3 separate regions of the Homo sapiens genome follow, and regions 2 and 3 are each linked to region 1. The links are contacts of gene promoters, found by promoter capture Hi-C in human tissues and cell types (Jung and others, 2019). All regions are on one chromosome and are shown on one strand. Each heading gives the region's core, a stretch centred on a gene start or on the middle of the fragment in contact. The rest is flanking DNA. Distances are from core to core; before and after follow the strand shown.

Region 1 (4,729 bases), core at 1,114-3,613:
ACACCCACTGTGAGTCAGGAACATCATGCCAGGTGCTTAGGGAAACAAATCAAAGCGGGTTGGGTGAGCAGCCCAAGCCAACAGATGCACCCCCATTCTCACATGGTGTGTGTTCCTGTGGGCTGGGCCCTGGGTGGTGTGGGGTGCTGGGGAGAAGAGGAAGGCACACCAGGCTGCAGGGCGGAGGTGCGGGTATGAATTTTCAGAGGAGATGGCACCTGAGCTGTATCTTCATGGATAAGAAGAGATTTGTTCATTTGTCCTTTGTGGAGCACACATTCAGGTTAAGAAAGTGGGGAGGATGGGCTACGCTGATGGAGCGTATGTGTGGTATCCCCAAGTGCACTGAGACACGAGTTTGACGTGTTCTGGGAAGATCGATGGTGCGGCGTGGCTGGAGTAGAGGTGAGGGATGAGTTGGAGGGGTGAGTTGGGCCAGCTCTCATGGATGCTGGAGTCTGGGCTTTCCCTGGGAGGTCATGGGGCGCCACTGGCCAGGGTCAGCAGGGAGACCTGCAGCTGGATTTGCATCGTACAGTGGGCATGGAGGGGTGTCAGGCTGGGTTGGGAACCGTGCAGGCTGGAAGGGCACTCTGGTGCTCTGAGCATTCAGAGGGGGCAGCTGGGCCTTGAAGGATGAGCAGGGGCTCCAGCAGGAACTGGAGAGCGCATTCCAGGGAGGACGCAAGTGCAGGCCCCTTTCACTACAGAAAAGCAGTTTTCACACAGACCTTCCAAAGGGGAGGAGAGGGGACTGCCTGGGCCTGGCAGCTGCGGCAGGTAGCAGCAATCAGAGGGCAGGGACCGCTCCTCCCGTGCCTGAGACCTGCCCAGGGTCCTTCAGGGAATTCGTAGCTGAGGAGGAACCAGATTTTTGGGACTGAGTTCTCCCTCACCACCCGCTCTGAGCCACCCTCTTGGTCCCTTGTCCTCTACTGCACTTCTTCCGGGGCTTGGCTCCTCGTCATGAGAGGAGCTTCCCTGGGCATGGCGAGGGGCGTGACTGACATAGCAGCCCTGGACAAGTGGCTCCAGGTGACCTGTGTTCACGTTGATCACAGCACTAACCACGGCCCCTCCTCTCAGCACCTTCCCCTCTCGAGCCGTCCAGTCCCAGTGAAAATGCTCACCGTTCATGGGTGGGCTGAGCAAGCCCCTGATCTCTGCCTTCCTCCGTGTTCTGATCTGCTTCATCTGCTGTGAAGGCCTCTCGCCATTTCCCCCGCTGGCAAACTCCTGTTCTTCCTGGAAAGTTCAGCTAAAAAGTCATCCCCTTTAGGGGTCCTTCCCTCAGGGGACCGTGCACTTGGCGAGACAGGGACTGGTCTTGGGTCTCTCTGTTGACTGTTTTATGAACCCAGGTAGTCACTTCCAGGGAACTCATCAGAGATGCTACCATTGGCTCCAATCTCCCTCTGTTCCCACTCGAGGTTTTTTGTTTCTTCGTTTGTTTTTCTTTCTTTCTTTTTTTTTGAGACAGAGTCTCGCTCTCGCCCAGGCTGGAGTGCAGTGACATGATCTCGGCTCACTGCAAGCTCCGCCTCCCGGGTTCACGCCATTCTCCTGCCTCAGCCTCCCGAATAGCTGGGACTACAGGCACCCGCCACCACGCCCAGCTAATTTTTTTTGTATTTTTAGTAGAGACGGGGTTTCACCATGTTAGCCAGGATGGTCTCAATCTCCTGATTTCGTGATCCGCCCGCCTTAACCTCCCAAAGTGCTGGGATTACAGGCGTGAGCCACTGCGCCCAGCCCGTTTGTTTTTGTTTTTTGGTGGACATCAACTTTAATTTGCCCTTTGTTTTGTTTTGTTTTTGAGGCAGGGTCTTGCTCTGTCTCCCAGGCTGGAGTGCAGTAGTGCAATCTTGGCTCACTGCAGTCTCGACCTCAAGAGGATCAAGCAATCCTCTTGCCTTAGCCTCCCGAGTAGCTGGGACCACAGGCGCACACCACCATGCCCAGCTAATTTTATTTTATATTTTGTAGAGACAGGGTTTTGCCATGTTCCCCAGGCTGGTCTCAAATTCCTGGGCTCAAGCAATCCGTCTGCCTCAGCCTCCCAAAATGCTGGAATTACAGGCACGAGCCACTGTGCCCGGCCTTAATTTGCCCTTTGAACATGTACAATTCAGGGCCTCTCTGGGCCTCAGTTTCTTGATCTCTGAGATGGGAAGATGGGATAATAATACTTGTTCCTCCCGTCCTTCAGCTCCTCCAGGGGACCCTCACACCAGCACACTCTCTGTCAGTCTTCCCTCAATGAACCCAGCAGGCAAGCTTGGTTTTGACAGAGGATGGGTGAGCAGAGATAAGGAAAACGGCCAGAAATATCTGGCTTCCCTCAGCAGGGGCACCAAAATTGGTACCTGGAAATTGCCTGGCTTGGACAGGCAGAATTGTCACTGTCAACCCCCACCACCAAAGGTCTTGGGTCTTTGTCTTTCTGCTTGTGGTGTTTGAGAGAGCTGCTTGACACAGCCGAGGTGCGGTCTGTGTCAGGTGACCTGGGCATCCTGGGGGTGCAGGGAGAAGCCCAGGTAAGGAGGAGGAGGGGCCGGTCATCAGTGGGGAAAAGTGATTGTCTACCCCACGGGAAGGTCAAGGGTAGGACGCTGTGAGAAGCCAGGGGGAGAGATGAAGTGAGGCATGATGCGGGGGGCCCTCATCCACCATCCCCCTCTTGCAGCTGTGCTGGGAAGAGCCTAGGCTCCAGGGTCCAAGGTGGCAGGGACAGAAGGAAGCACGTGTGAGCACTTTCTCCCTGCTGGCCCGCCTTCCTGGTTGGCAATGCCGTGAGTGTTCCAGGATGTGGCCCCGTGGCTGTCATTTCCTTTCTTCCACCTAGTGATAACAATGGCCACTGTTTGTGTGCCCACAGTCGGCCTGTGTCCCAGACACCTTCCCTCCATTGCGTCATCTCGTCCTCCTGCCTACCCTGAAGGCTGGATGCCAGCCAAGCCTGTCGTTTCTGTGGCCATGCTGTCGTGGGTGTGTGGGGGGCATCCCCTAGCCCCAGGCTCTGGTGGGGGGTACACAGGCTGGGCCATTGACGAAGGGGTGTGTGGAATCTTTCTTTGATTTCACTGCACCCCTGGTGACTTTCTCCCTCAATCTGAGGCTCATGGGTGCTGGATGCTCTTGACTCTCTGCCCTTCCTGGGCGCACCCCTCCGCGTCCCTGTGGGCCCGTCCTCGGGGTAGCCTCTCTGCGCTCTTCCAGGCCAGGCCTGAGTCCCACAGGTCCCCATCTTCCCGGCTGCAGCCCCCAGAGGCTCAGCCTATACTGCTACTTCCTTTGAAAACTATAATCGCTTTACATAGCATCTGGAAAATAGGGAAAAGGAAAAAACAAAAGCCCATAAACCCAGCACCCTCATCTACTCAATGGCATGTTTTCTGTCAGTCTATCTTGGTTTGTTTTCTATCAGGCTTTGTTTTTTCTATGCATAATATTTACTCAGTTAAATTTTTGTTTTGACAAACTTTCTGTGAGCCAAGCTTGTGGACGGAGATGAAAAGACGAGCAGCTGCCTTTGAGAAACTCAGACTCTGGGCCAGCCCATCTGGGTGCCAGCTTTCACTGCTCCACCCACTAGCTGGGTGACCCTGGGCCCGTGACTTTACCCCTCTGTTCTTTGGTGTTCTCATATGTAAAATGAGGATAATAATAGTAACCAGTTCATAGAGTGGTTGTCAGACAGAATGATTAATGTACGTAAAGCTTTCAGGATGGTGCCAGCAAGATGCACAGGAGTGTTTGGTAGGAGGATGACGAAGCTTACCGTCTGGCAGGAGGGGCAGTTGTAACATGCTGGGCTGTGATAGTACAGATGTGTTTAAAGTGAGGGAGAGCCCAGAGCAAGGAGAGAGAACCTGGCATCTGGTGATGGTGTATCAAGAACATTTTAGGCCAGACACGGTGACTCACACCTGTAATCCCAGCACTTTGAGAGGCTGAGGCAGGCAGATCGCTTGAACCCGGGCGTTCGAGACCAGCCTGAGCAACGTGGTAAGACCCTGTCTTTATAATTTTTTTTTTTTTTTTTCTGAGACGGAGTCTTCACTCTGTCACCTAGGCTGGAGTGCGGTGGTGCTATCTTGGCTCACTGCAACCTCCACCTCCCGGGCTCAAGTGATTCTCCTGCCTCAGTCTCCCAAGTAGCTGGGATTATAGGTGCCCACCACCATGCCCAGCTAATTTTTTTATATTTTTAGTAGAGACGGAGTTTCACCATGTTGGTCAGGCTGGTCTCAAATTCCTGACCTCAAGTGATCTGCCCTCCTCAGCCTCCCAGAGTGCTGGGATTACGGGCATGAGCCACCATGCCTGGCCTCTATAAAAATTGTTTGGAAGAAATTACCTAGGCCTGGTGATACACACCTGTAGTCCTAGCTACTCAGGAGGCTGAGGTGGAAGGAGGTAGAGGCTGCAGTGAGCCATGATTGAGCCACTGTACTCCAGCCTGGGCAACAGAGCCAGACCCTGTTTCAAAACAACAACAACAAAAACATTTTTAAGGAGGAGGCTGAGAACCACGAGAACCAAGCTTGGATTTGAAGAAGGATCAGGGCTTTCTCAGACAGAAAAGGAGAGGAAGAACATTCCAGATAGACATCATTGAGAGATGGCACTGAGCCTTGTAATGGGACACTGCGAACTTTTCTTCAGTTGTTATGATCTTTTTTTTTTTTTTTTTGAGACGGAGTTTCGCTCTTGTTGCCCAGGCTGG
Region 2 (4,729 bases), core at 991-3,490, 610 kb after region 1:
TGCGATGATCCCATCTTTCAAATGTTTCTGGGCACCCCCCCAATAGTACCCACCCCTCACACTACCCTGCCTACTGCGGTCGAGAGACTCTGCAGCGCTGTGGAGCTGAGGGCAGGGTATTGGGACCCGGTCTTCCCATGTGGAAAACGGAACAGCACACCAGGCAGTTCCCCTCCCAGGGGAGTTGCAAGGGTAGAAAATGTAATGAAACCCTCAGATACTGGAGCAGGGCAGCCATGGGTTCAAATCTGACACCTTTACACTAACATCTCTCATTCCAGGGACCCCGGTGGCAGCCACGTGGCACTTGCTGCCAACCACAGGGCACTGCTGGCCATCAGGTGTGCCTCACCTGGCACTGGAGTAAGCAGGGCTCCAAGTGTCCTGGTGCCAGGCTCACCTCCCCTCACCTGCTCAGGAACACCGCCCGTTAGTGTTCAGAACACCCCTTTCACAGATGGAAAAAACGAAGCTCAGAAAGGAGACATTTACCCTCAGTCACAGACCAACATTGCTGGTAAATGCCCCAGGGTGGGGGTGAAGACGATGGGGAATGGGGAAGACGATTTGGAGGGCTTGGATGCCCAGTGCTGAGCCCGGTGTGGGGTGCAGGTGCAGGCCTGGGAAGACAGGAGACCCAGCTCTGCAGATTCACTGCCTGTGACCTGGGCAAGGAGGTCACCACACAGCCTCAGTGTCCTTGGAGTCCTTATATTTACCCTATAGAGGATAGTCAGGGCCTGGGCACATGGCCTGAGCTCACTCAATGGTGGGAATGACGCAAGAACAAGTTTTGGAGCCGGGATCGGGCCAACAGGGGTCGCTGTGGAGGCACATGTGGTCGCGGGGAGGCCAAGGGCGGGTCTGAAGGAGAGCGGGGGCGGCTGCACCCTGGCATTCACCTGGGGGTCACCCGCAGGCCGCAGTGCTGGCCAGGGGCCCACGTCTCATCCTGGAGGCCACTGCTCGGGTGCACACAGCCCACTTCCTGCGGGCATCCAGCTGGGTGACGCCCCCCCCCACCGCTGGACAGCGGGTCCCTGTCATGGTTACGGCAGCTCCCCCAAACCTGCTCTGGTCCCTGGAATAAGGGGTTAAACCGGTCGGCTGACTTCTCCTGCTCCTCAAAGTCCAGACGCTTCAAGGTGGAGAGACGGGGAAACTGAGGCCAGAACGGGGTAGCTAGTTGTTCGCAGTCGCGCTAGGGGACCCGGTCCTCCGTATTCCAAGGGGGGCACCGTGGGCCATTAGGGAGCGACGGGGAAAGTGGAAAGGAGACGCGCTTCGTGCCCACCGCCCCGAGTTAGAGCCGAACCAGCCCGGGACCGAGCGAGACGGAGCGGCTGCGGGCCGCGTCTCGGGTCCCCGCGCCACGTTTAGTGCCGCTGCGGCCTCCCGGCCAGTCCCCCCTACTCTCTAAGCCTCAGTTTCCCGGTCTAGGAAAAGGGCTTCGAATGTTGCGGGTCTGGCACTGCTGGGGCAAAGGCAGAACAATCTGGAGGGCGGCCGGGATTGGAAGTCCGGGAAAGACTTCGGCCATCCAACATTCCCTGGGGGGACGGGGCTCAGGACGCGGAGGGTCGCTCCGCGGGGGAAGGGGACGACCGGCTGTCTTGGCCGGAGGGGAACCGGACGGGATGACCTCATCCGCGGCTCCAGCCTGGAATGCGGCGGTCGGGGAGGGGGGCAGGGTGCCTGTCCATCTCCCCGGGCCCCCCACCCCCCACTTCCCGCTCTCCGCGTGGGCCTCGGCGGAGGGGAGACATTCCGCCGCGTCGCCCGCTGCCCGCCCCGGCCCTTCCTTCCCCCGCGCAGGAAGGCGCGGAGACAGCCCCCGCTCTGCCCCTCGGCTCGCCCCCTCCTCGCGCATTTTGGCCGCTCAGCCGTGTCCGATCCTCTGCCCCCTCCACCAGCCTGGAACGGGACACGAAGCCCGAAAGCTCGGAGTTTCCTCGCGCGGCTCCGCGGCCGCGCCCGGCCTTCCTGTGGGCACCCGGGGGCGCCTCTCCCGGGCGGGTCCCGTCCCCGTTCCGGCCCCGGGAGCCTAGTAGGGTGCAGAGTCCCCGCGGGCGCCGGGACCCGCCGGCCTCCACGGCCTCCGCCCCGAGGACCCGCGCGCCCGGGCTGTTACCTGGCTCCGCGAGCCCCGGGGGCGCGGGACGAGGGCGGACTCGTCGTCTGCAGCGGCGGCGGCCGCGCGTCCCGGCTGGCAGCCCGGGAGAGTCGCTGGGCCGGTCTGCGCCGCCCTGGCCGCGGGCTCCGCGGGCTGGATCCGGGGGCGGGGGCGGGGTGTGGGCGCTCCCGCCTCCCGCCCGTCTCCTCCCGCCCGCGGGCGGGGCCCGGCCCCCTCCCCGGCCCCCTCCCCGGCACCGTCCTCGCGGCCGCCGAGAGCTGGCAGGGACGCGGCTGGGGGGCCAGGCCAGGCCTCTGCTCGCCACCCCGGACAAGGCCAGCCGGGGAACGTGCGGGCTGCCCCGGGGAGGCGACTCCGGTCCCCGGCCGCCAACCCCTCTTCCACCGGTTCCCCTCGTGGCCTTGCTTGGGGCGTCCAGGCCTGATGAACTCTCCTCCCTCCTGGGCCCTCCAGCCGCGCCCTGCGGGAGTTCGGGGAACCGGGAAGCTCGATCTGAGGCCTTGAATGCCTGGGCCTTTAAACCTTGATGTTTACAGGCATGACATGCCCACTCCTTTGCTCCCCATTCTCATTCCCTTCCATCCGGTACAGGCCCCGCGGTGCCCAGGAGGAAGACAGCCATACTGGGGCGACTGGTAGAGTGGGGTAGAGTGGCCGTCAAGACCGGGACCCTGGAGCCGGACAGCCTGGGCTCCTGTCCTGCCTCAGTCACTACTTACCTTTCTCTGCCTCAGTTTCCTGATCTGAAAGTGGGATAGATAATAGCAGCATCAGATGTTGTGTGAAGTGTTTCCTGCTCCAAGAGCACCTAGGAGGCTTGCTCGGCAGGTAAATGAAGTCGCATCTCAGAGACTTTACAGACCCTCCCCCCACCCCGCCCACCTCCATGGAGGGCAGGGAATCAGCCATACCCGGGACCCTGTGCCATCCTCAAGGAGGGGAGATAGATCTCTGGCCCCTGCCTCCCGTTGTTGTGCCCTCCTTTGACTACTCCCATCTGACTATAGAGTCCTCGGGCTGTCAGGGCACAGAGAGGTCCCTAATACTTCCTGCAGGGCCTGGGGGCTCAGGAAATCTTCCTAGAGGAGATGATACCTGAGTTAAGTCTCTCTCTCTCTCTTTTTTTTTTTTTTTTTTTTTTTTTTTTTTTTTTTTTTTTTTTTGAGACGGAGTCTCTCTCTGTTGCTCAGGCTGGAGTGCCATGGCATGATCTCAGCTCACTGCAGCTTCCACCTCCCGGGTTCAAGCGATTCTCCCTCCTAAGCCTCCGGACTAGCTGGGATTACAGGCACCCACCCACGCCCGGCTAATTTTTGTATTTTTTAGTAGAGAGGGGGCTTCACCATGTTGGCCAGGCTGGTCTTGAACTCCTTACCTCAGGTGATCCGCCTGCCTTGGCCTCCTCAAGTGCTAGGATTATGGGTGTGAGCCACTGCATGGTTGTGAGTTAAGTCTTAAAGGACGTGTAGGCAGAGGGAAGGGCAGTGGAAATGCACAGTGCACAGCTGGCAAGGGACAGCACAGCAAAGGCTGGGAGTGGAGGACCCTGCAGCGGAGGCAAACCCGGCTGAAGGAGACTGGCTGAGCGCTGTTGTGGCCGGGGATGAGGAGCTGTATTTACCCGCAGGTGGAGGAGACAAGGTCTTTACTGTTCACCCAGGGGCTAGGCCTCTTCCACTGGCTCCCTGAATCCCCATGCTGGCCACCAAGGGAAGGAGCTATTTCTGCAGCTGGACAAATGAGGAAACAGAGGCACAAAGCATTCTAGCATTTGCTCAAGTGGCACAGCAGTAGGAACTCTTTCCCTGGGGGCCGGCCCAGGAGTATTTTGTCCCATGGAGAACTGGAACAGCATCAGGACAGTGAGCCAGCAGGCAGCACTGGCAGGTGTACATTTAGAAGACTGACTGTTGCCCGGCGTGGTTGCTCACGCCTGTAATCCCAGCACTTTGGGAGGCTGAGGTGGGCAGATTACTTGAGGCTGGGAGTTTGAGACCAGCCTGACCAATATGGTAAAACTCCGTCTCAACTAAAAATACAAAAATTAGCCAGGCGTGGTGGCGGGTGCCTGTAATCCCAGCTACTCGGGAGGCTGAGGCAGGGAGAATTGCTTGAACCTGGGAAGCGGAGGTTGCAGTGAGCTGAGATCGCACCACGGCACTCCAGCCTGGTCAACAGAGCGAGACTCCATCTTAAAAAATAAAAATAAAAAAGTGCCGGGCGCGGTGGCTCACACTTGTAATCCCAGCACTTTGGGAGGCCGAGGCGAGCAGATCACTTGAGGTCAGGAGTTCGTGACCAGCTTGGCCAACATGGTGAAATCCTGTCTCTACTAAAAATACCAAAAATTAGCCGGGCATAGTGGTGGGCGCCTGTAATCCCAGCTATTCAGGAGGCAGAGGCAGGAGAATTGCTTGAATCTGGGAGACGGAGGTTACAGTGAGCTGAGATCGTGCTACTGCACTCCAGCCTGGGCGACAGAGCGAGACCCCATCTCAAAAAAACAAAAAACAAAATAGAAATCTGACTGTGAGTGAAGAATGGACTGGAAGGACAGTGATGGAAACAAAGAACTAGTGCTACTGTGGTTATTAC
Region 3 (4,729 bases), core at 1,215-3,714, 530 kb before region 1:
GTATGTGACCTTTTAAGCAAGTTAACTTCTTAGAGCTTGTTTTCTCCTTTAAAGAAATAAAGTATCTAATAGGATAAAATCAGCTGTAAATGAACTAATATATGTAAAGCACTTAGAACACTGCTTGCTGCAGAGCAATCCCTCAAACTATTCATATGTAAATATAACCATAGCCGTGGGTAGCTTACAAATTACTTTTTTTTTTTTTTTTTTTTTTTGAGATGGAGTCTCTGTTGCCCAGGCTGGAGTGCAGTAGCACGATCTCGGCTCACTGCAAGCTCCGCCTCCCAGGTTCACGCCATTCTCCTGCCTCAGCCTCCCGAGTAGCTGGGACTACAGGCGACCGCGACCACGCCTGGCTATTTTTTTTTTTTTTTTTTTTTTTGTATTTTTTAGTAGAGATGGGGTTTCACCGTATTAGCCAGGATGGTCTCAATCTCCTGACCTCATGATCCGCCCGCCTCGGCCTCCGAAAGTGCTGGGATTACAGGCGTGAGCCACCACGCCCGGCCACAAAAATTTAATTCAAAAGTTGGCTGGACAGAGCCAGAGGGCTCCTCACCCTGAGGCAGGCACTCCAGCGTGTTAAATCATAACGTTGAGGGTAATGGTGTTAAAATAGTCACGTTTGCCAGGTGCAGTGGCTTACACCTGTAATCCTAACACTTTGGGAGGCCAAGATGGGCAGATCACCTGAGCCCAGGAAAGAGTTCGAGACCAGTTTGGGCAACGTGATGAAACCCCACCTCTACAAAAATAAAAATAAAAATTAGCCAGGTGTGGTGATGCATGCCTGTAGTCCCAGCTACTCAGGAGGCTGAGGCAGGAAGATCGCTTGAGCCCAGAGGCTGTGGGTTAGCCGTGAACGCGCCACTGCACTCCAGCCTGGGAAAGAGAGCAAGACCCTGTCTCAAAAATAATAAAACTTCAGGCCGGGCGCGGTGGCTCACGCTTGTAATCCCAGCACTTTGGGAGGCCGAGGCGGGTGGATCTCAGGAGTTCGAGACCAGCCTGGCCAACATGGTGAAACCCCGTCTCTACTAAAAATACAAAAATTAGCCGTGCGTAGTGGCAGGAGCCTGTAATCCCAGCTACGCGGGAGGCTGAGACATGAGAATCGCTTGAGTCCAGGAGGTGAAGGTTGCAGTAAGCCGAGATCGCCCCGTTGCAATTCAGCCTGGGCGACAAAAGTTAAACTCCATCTTAAAAAAAAAAAAAAAAAAAAAGGCCGGGCACGGTGGCTCACTTCTGTAATCCCAACACCTTGGGAGGCCAAGGCGGGTGGATCACCTGAGGTCGGGAGTTCGAGACCAGCCTGACCAACATGAAGAAACCCCTCTACTAAACACACAAAATTAGCCGGGCGTGGTGGCGCATGCCTGCAATCCCAGCTACTCGGGAGGCTGAGGCAGGAGAATTGCTTGAACCCGGGAGGCGGACGTTGCGGTGAGCGGAGATCATGCCATTGCACTCCAGTCTGGGCAACAAGAGCGAAACTCCGTCTCCAAAAAACAAAACAAAACAACTAAATTTGAAGTGCAACAGTTTCTTCTCGTTTTTCCAGTTTTACAGAAAACCCAAAAGAAGGGCAGCTAAGGTGGATAATGATGCCTACCACGCACCCTAAGAGTAGGTAAAGGGGAAAAAATGAAATCCACGTGGGACTGCGAGTAGTTTTCGCCTTTTCCCGAAGACGCACACAATGCGCTTAGGTATACCTCGCGCAGAGGTCTCTGCAGAGAGGAAAGCCACCGTGAGAAGAGCGGGGAGCCCCCAGGCAAGAAGGCAGTGGCTTGTGTGTAGTGAACCGAAATGCGACACCAAGGAACTGCAACAGGATTCTCCTTTCCACTTGAAATGTGACTCCCAGCGAGACACCTACCCTTGACGCTCCCTGGACAGTGCGGCACGGTCGGGCCCACTAACCAAGGCAATTTGCGCCCGACCGAATCAGGTGCTTCAAAATCCCCCCTGGTGAGCCGCGCGTTAACCACACATAAAACAGTCAACGCAGAAGGAGCGAGAACGTTCGGCCGAAAAGCCCGGCACAGAGAAGGGAGGGGTGCTGAAAGCCGCGGACTGCAGCCGCTGGCCTGGCTGCCGCCCCGAAACAACGCCCACGCCCGGGAGAAGGGCAGGCTGGCGTCCAGGTAGGACTCCCTCAGGCCGCCCCGCCAGGGGCCGCGCCGAGCGGAGCGGCTGGACCCCAACCCTGCCGGCCGCCGCCGAGGTGCGCAGCCCGCAGCCCCACACCCACGGCCTTTGCAACACCCCAACCGTTGAACTGCGCCCCTACACGCCCGGCGTCTGCGGCTCCCAGGCCGGTGCCGATGACGTCAGACTTACGTCAGGCGTGACGCCACGGCTGGGAGGAGTGAGGACGGCGCGGGAGGGCGTTTCCGGAGCACGCGCCGGGCGGGGGCCGCTGACGTCGGGCTCAGGTGCGCGCGCCCGCCCGCACGGCCCAGTTGGCGGCGCGCACTCCAGGTGGCGGCCGGCTGCGGTGAGGGGACCGCCAGCGGCGAGCAGTCCCGGCGGCCCTGGGGTCTGCGGCCGGGGGCGCGGCGGGAGGGCGTCTGGGCCTGCGCTCACGTGACGGGCGGGGAGGTTTGTGTAGGGGCTGCGAGCCGGGTGGGCGCGGGCCCGGGAGCGCGAGGCTGACTGTCCGGCCCCACCCCTCGCGGGCCAGCCCTTCGCCGCGCGGAACCTTCCCTCGGGCAGGGGCCGGCCCCGCCGCTCACTTCCCGCGCCCGCTCGCCGCTGACCGGAGTTGTCTCCTCCTCCGCAGGGCCGCGGCCAGAGGGCTAGAATCCGCGCCTTCCGAGGGAGCCGCGCCCTGCGGGCCCCACCGTACCCGAGGGGATGGAGGGCTGCCCCCGAGGCCCCCGCGCGGCTCGCGGTCCCACGCCTGCCGGCCCGCGCTAGCTACTCGACTCGTGCGCTAAATTTATCCGTCACCCAGGCCTTGTCTCCCGAGTCATTGGCGTCGTGGTTCAAAAGAAATGGAAGAAAAGGAGCGATGTGACCGATTGTGTTCGGTCCTCCTGCTTTGAGGCCTGGCATTTGCAGAGGGAAACAGCAAGAAAATCGTGGGGATTTTGGAGGGGGGTGGGAGGGAAGGGTGGGGAAACGGAAACAAGGTCTTACATTTTATGTGTTTTTTTAAATTCTGCACTTTGACAGTGGTAGCAAAATAAAAGTAATCCAAAAGTTATTTTTCTATTGAGAAGAGAGAAGAGGTGGGTTTTATTTTTTTCCTTTTGATTCCAATCTTTTCTCCCAGTGACAAAGCATAAATCATGGACACCAGAGAATAAGGTGGACCTCAGGAATCCGGAAAAGACTGAGAAGCTTACATTCTTCCTCTAGAGGGAAGAGTGGGGTGTTTATAGCCATCTCTGGAACCTAAAACAAAAAACATGAGTTGTGTGCCATGGAAAGGAGACAAGGCCAAATCTGAATCATTGGAGCTGCCCCAGGCAGCACCCCCACAAATCTACCATGAGAAACAGCGCAGGGAGCTTTGTGCCCTCCACGCCCTCAATAACGTCTTCCAGGACAGCAATGCCTTCACCCGGGATACGCTGCAAGAGATTTTCCAGAGGTAGGGGACCCTTCTCCTTGGCATCTTGATACTGATATTTCTGGATTTCTGTGGGTGGGGCAGTGTCTCAGCTTCATAAACCTTCAAAGCTGTAGGTATTAGCTAGATTGCGTTAGCAGGTATAAGGGACACAAGACATGAAAAGATAATCACTACCATTTATCAGGCACTTACGGTGGGCTAGGAAAGTACTCATAGCCTCAGCTGTGTTTTCTTGAGTGATCTTCAACAGTCCCGTGGAATACGTGTTAATATGTGATGTTATTTCCATTTTACTGATGAAGACACATTTAGTTCAGTACCTCGCCCAAGATAACAAGACTTGGAGCTGGGGTTGAATTCTTATATCTATGCTGTTGACCACTATGCTATAATGCCTGTAAAGCTCTGCTGCCGAGGAGTTTACAGTCTAGAAGTGGGACTAGATACGTACACGTTCAGTCACCTGTCTTTAAAGGTGGAATGTGGTGGGTACCACAAGCAAGATGTATAAACAATGCTCAGCTTTTCTGTGAGGCCATGTGCTGGCAGTAGTGCTGTTCGTACATTGCTTTGTGAAGCTCTCCCAACAGTCATTTCACTGCCTGTATTATGCTGATAGGCAGAAAGGTCAGGTAATATGTCCAAATAGCTTCTAAATAGCAAAGCTATAATTTGAAGTTGACTCCAGATCTCTTCTTTCTCCTTTATTCTAGATGGCCTTTCTTACCCACTTAGAACAAATGCCACCCCACAGGTTAATAGAGGTTCAGGTTTTGGCCAAGTACGGTGTAATCCCAGCACTTTGGGAGGCCGAGGAGGGCAGATCACCTGAGTTCAGGAGTTTGAGACCAGCCTGTCCAACATGGTGGAACCCCGTGTCTACTAAAAATACAAAAATTAGCCCGGTGTGGTGGTGCACGCCTGTAGTCCCAGCTAGTCGGGAGGCTGAGGCAGGAGAATCGCATAAACTTGGGAAGTGGAGGTTGCAGTGAGCCAAGATTGCACCACTCTGCACTCCAGCCTGGGTGACGGGTCTCGGAAAAACAAAAAAAGAAGTTCAGCTTTTTTCTCTTTGCTTTGATTTTCTAGAATTACTTTATTAAAGGTTTTGAGAGTCAGTTCTGTGGTGTCTTAATGGACACA

Evidence for each region. The method cuts DNA at HindIII sites, captures the fragments that hold promoters and counts their contacts. A contact is called where the count stands out against the background at its distance.
Region 2: the fragment with the promoter of CDC42EP1 here is called in contact with a fragment that was not itself captured in region 1 in 1 of the 25 tissues and cell types used here (bladder).
Region 3: the fragment with the promoter of JOSD1 here is called in contact with a fragment that was not itself captured in region 1 in 1 of the 25 tissues and cell types used here (dorsolateral prefrontal cortex).

What each region holds. Positions count from the first base shown.
Region 1 is chr22:38,171,140-38,175,868 of GRCh38, reverse strand. All of the region lies in intron 1 of PLA2G6 (phospholipase A2 group VI), which reads left to right. Among named protein-coding and RNA genes, the nearest start is that of PLA2G6, 8.3 kb to the left of the region's middle. RefSeq lists a cis regulatory region at 1,687 and an enhancer at 1,615-1,759. The HindIII fragment of the contact is 3,596 bases long and covers 566-4,161 here.
Region 2 is chr22:37,557,991-37,562,719 of GRCh38, reverse strand. It overlaps CDC42EP1 (CDC42 effector protein 1), which reads right to left and starts at 2,240. Exons shown (of 3, transcript NM_152243.3): 1 at 2,132-2,240. RefSeq lists enhancers at 1-389, 692-921, 390-997, 998-1,604. The HindIII fragment of the contact is 19,033 bases long and covers 1-4,729 here.
Region 3 is chr22:38,698,678-38,703,406 of GRCh38, reverse strand. It overlaps JOSD1 (Josephin domain containing 1), which reads left to right and starts at 2,464. Exons shown (of 5, transcript NM_001360236.2): 1 at 2,464-2,607; 2 at 2,789-3,604. The coding sequence starts at 3,420. RefSeq lists a silencer at 1,998-2,957. The HindIII fragment of the contact is 3,457 bases long and covers 1,210-4,666 here.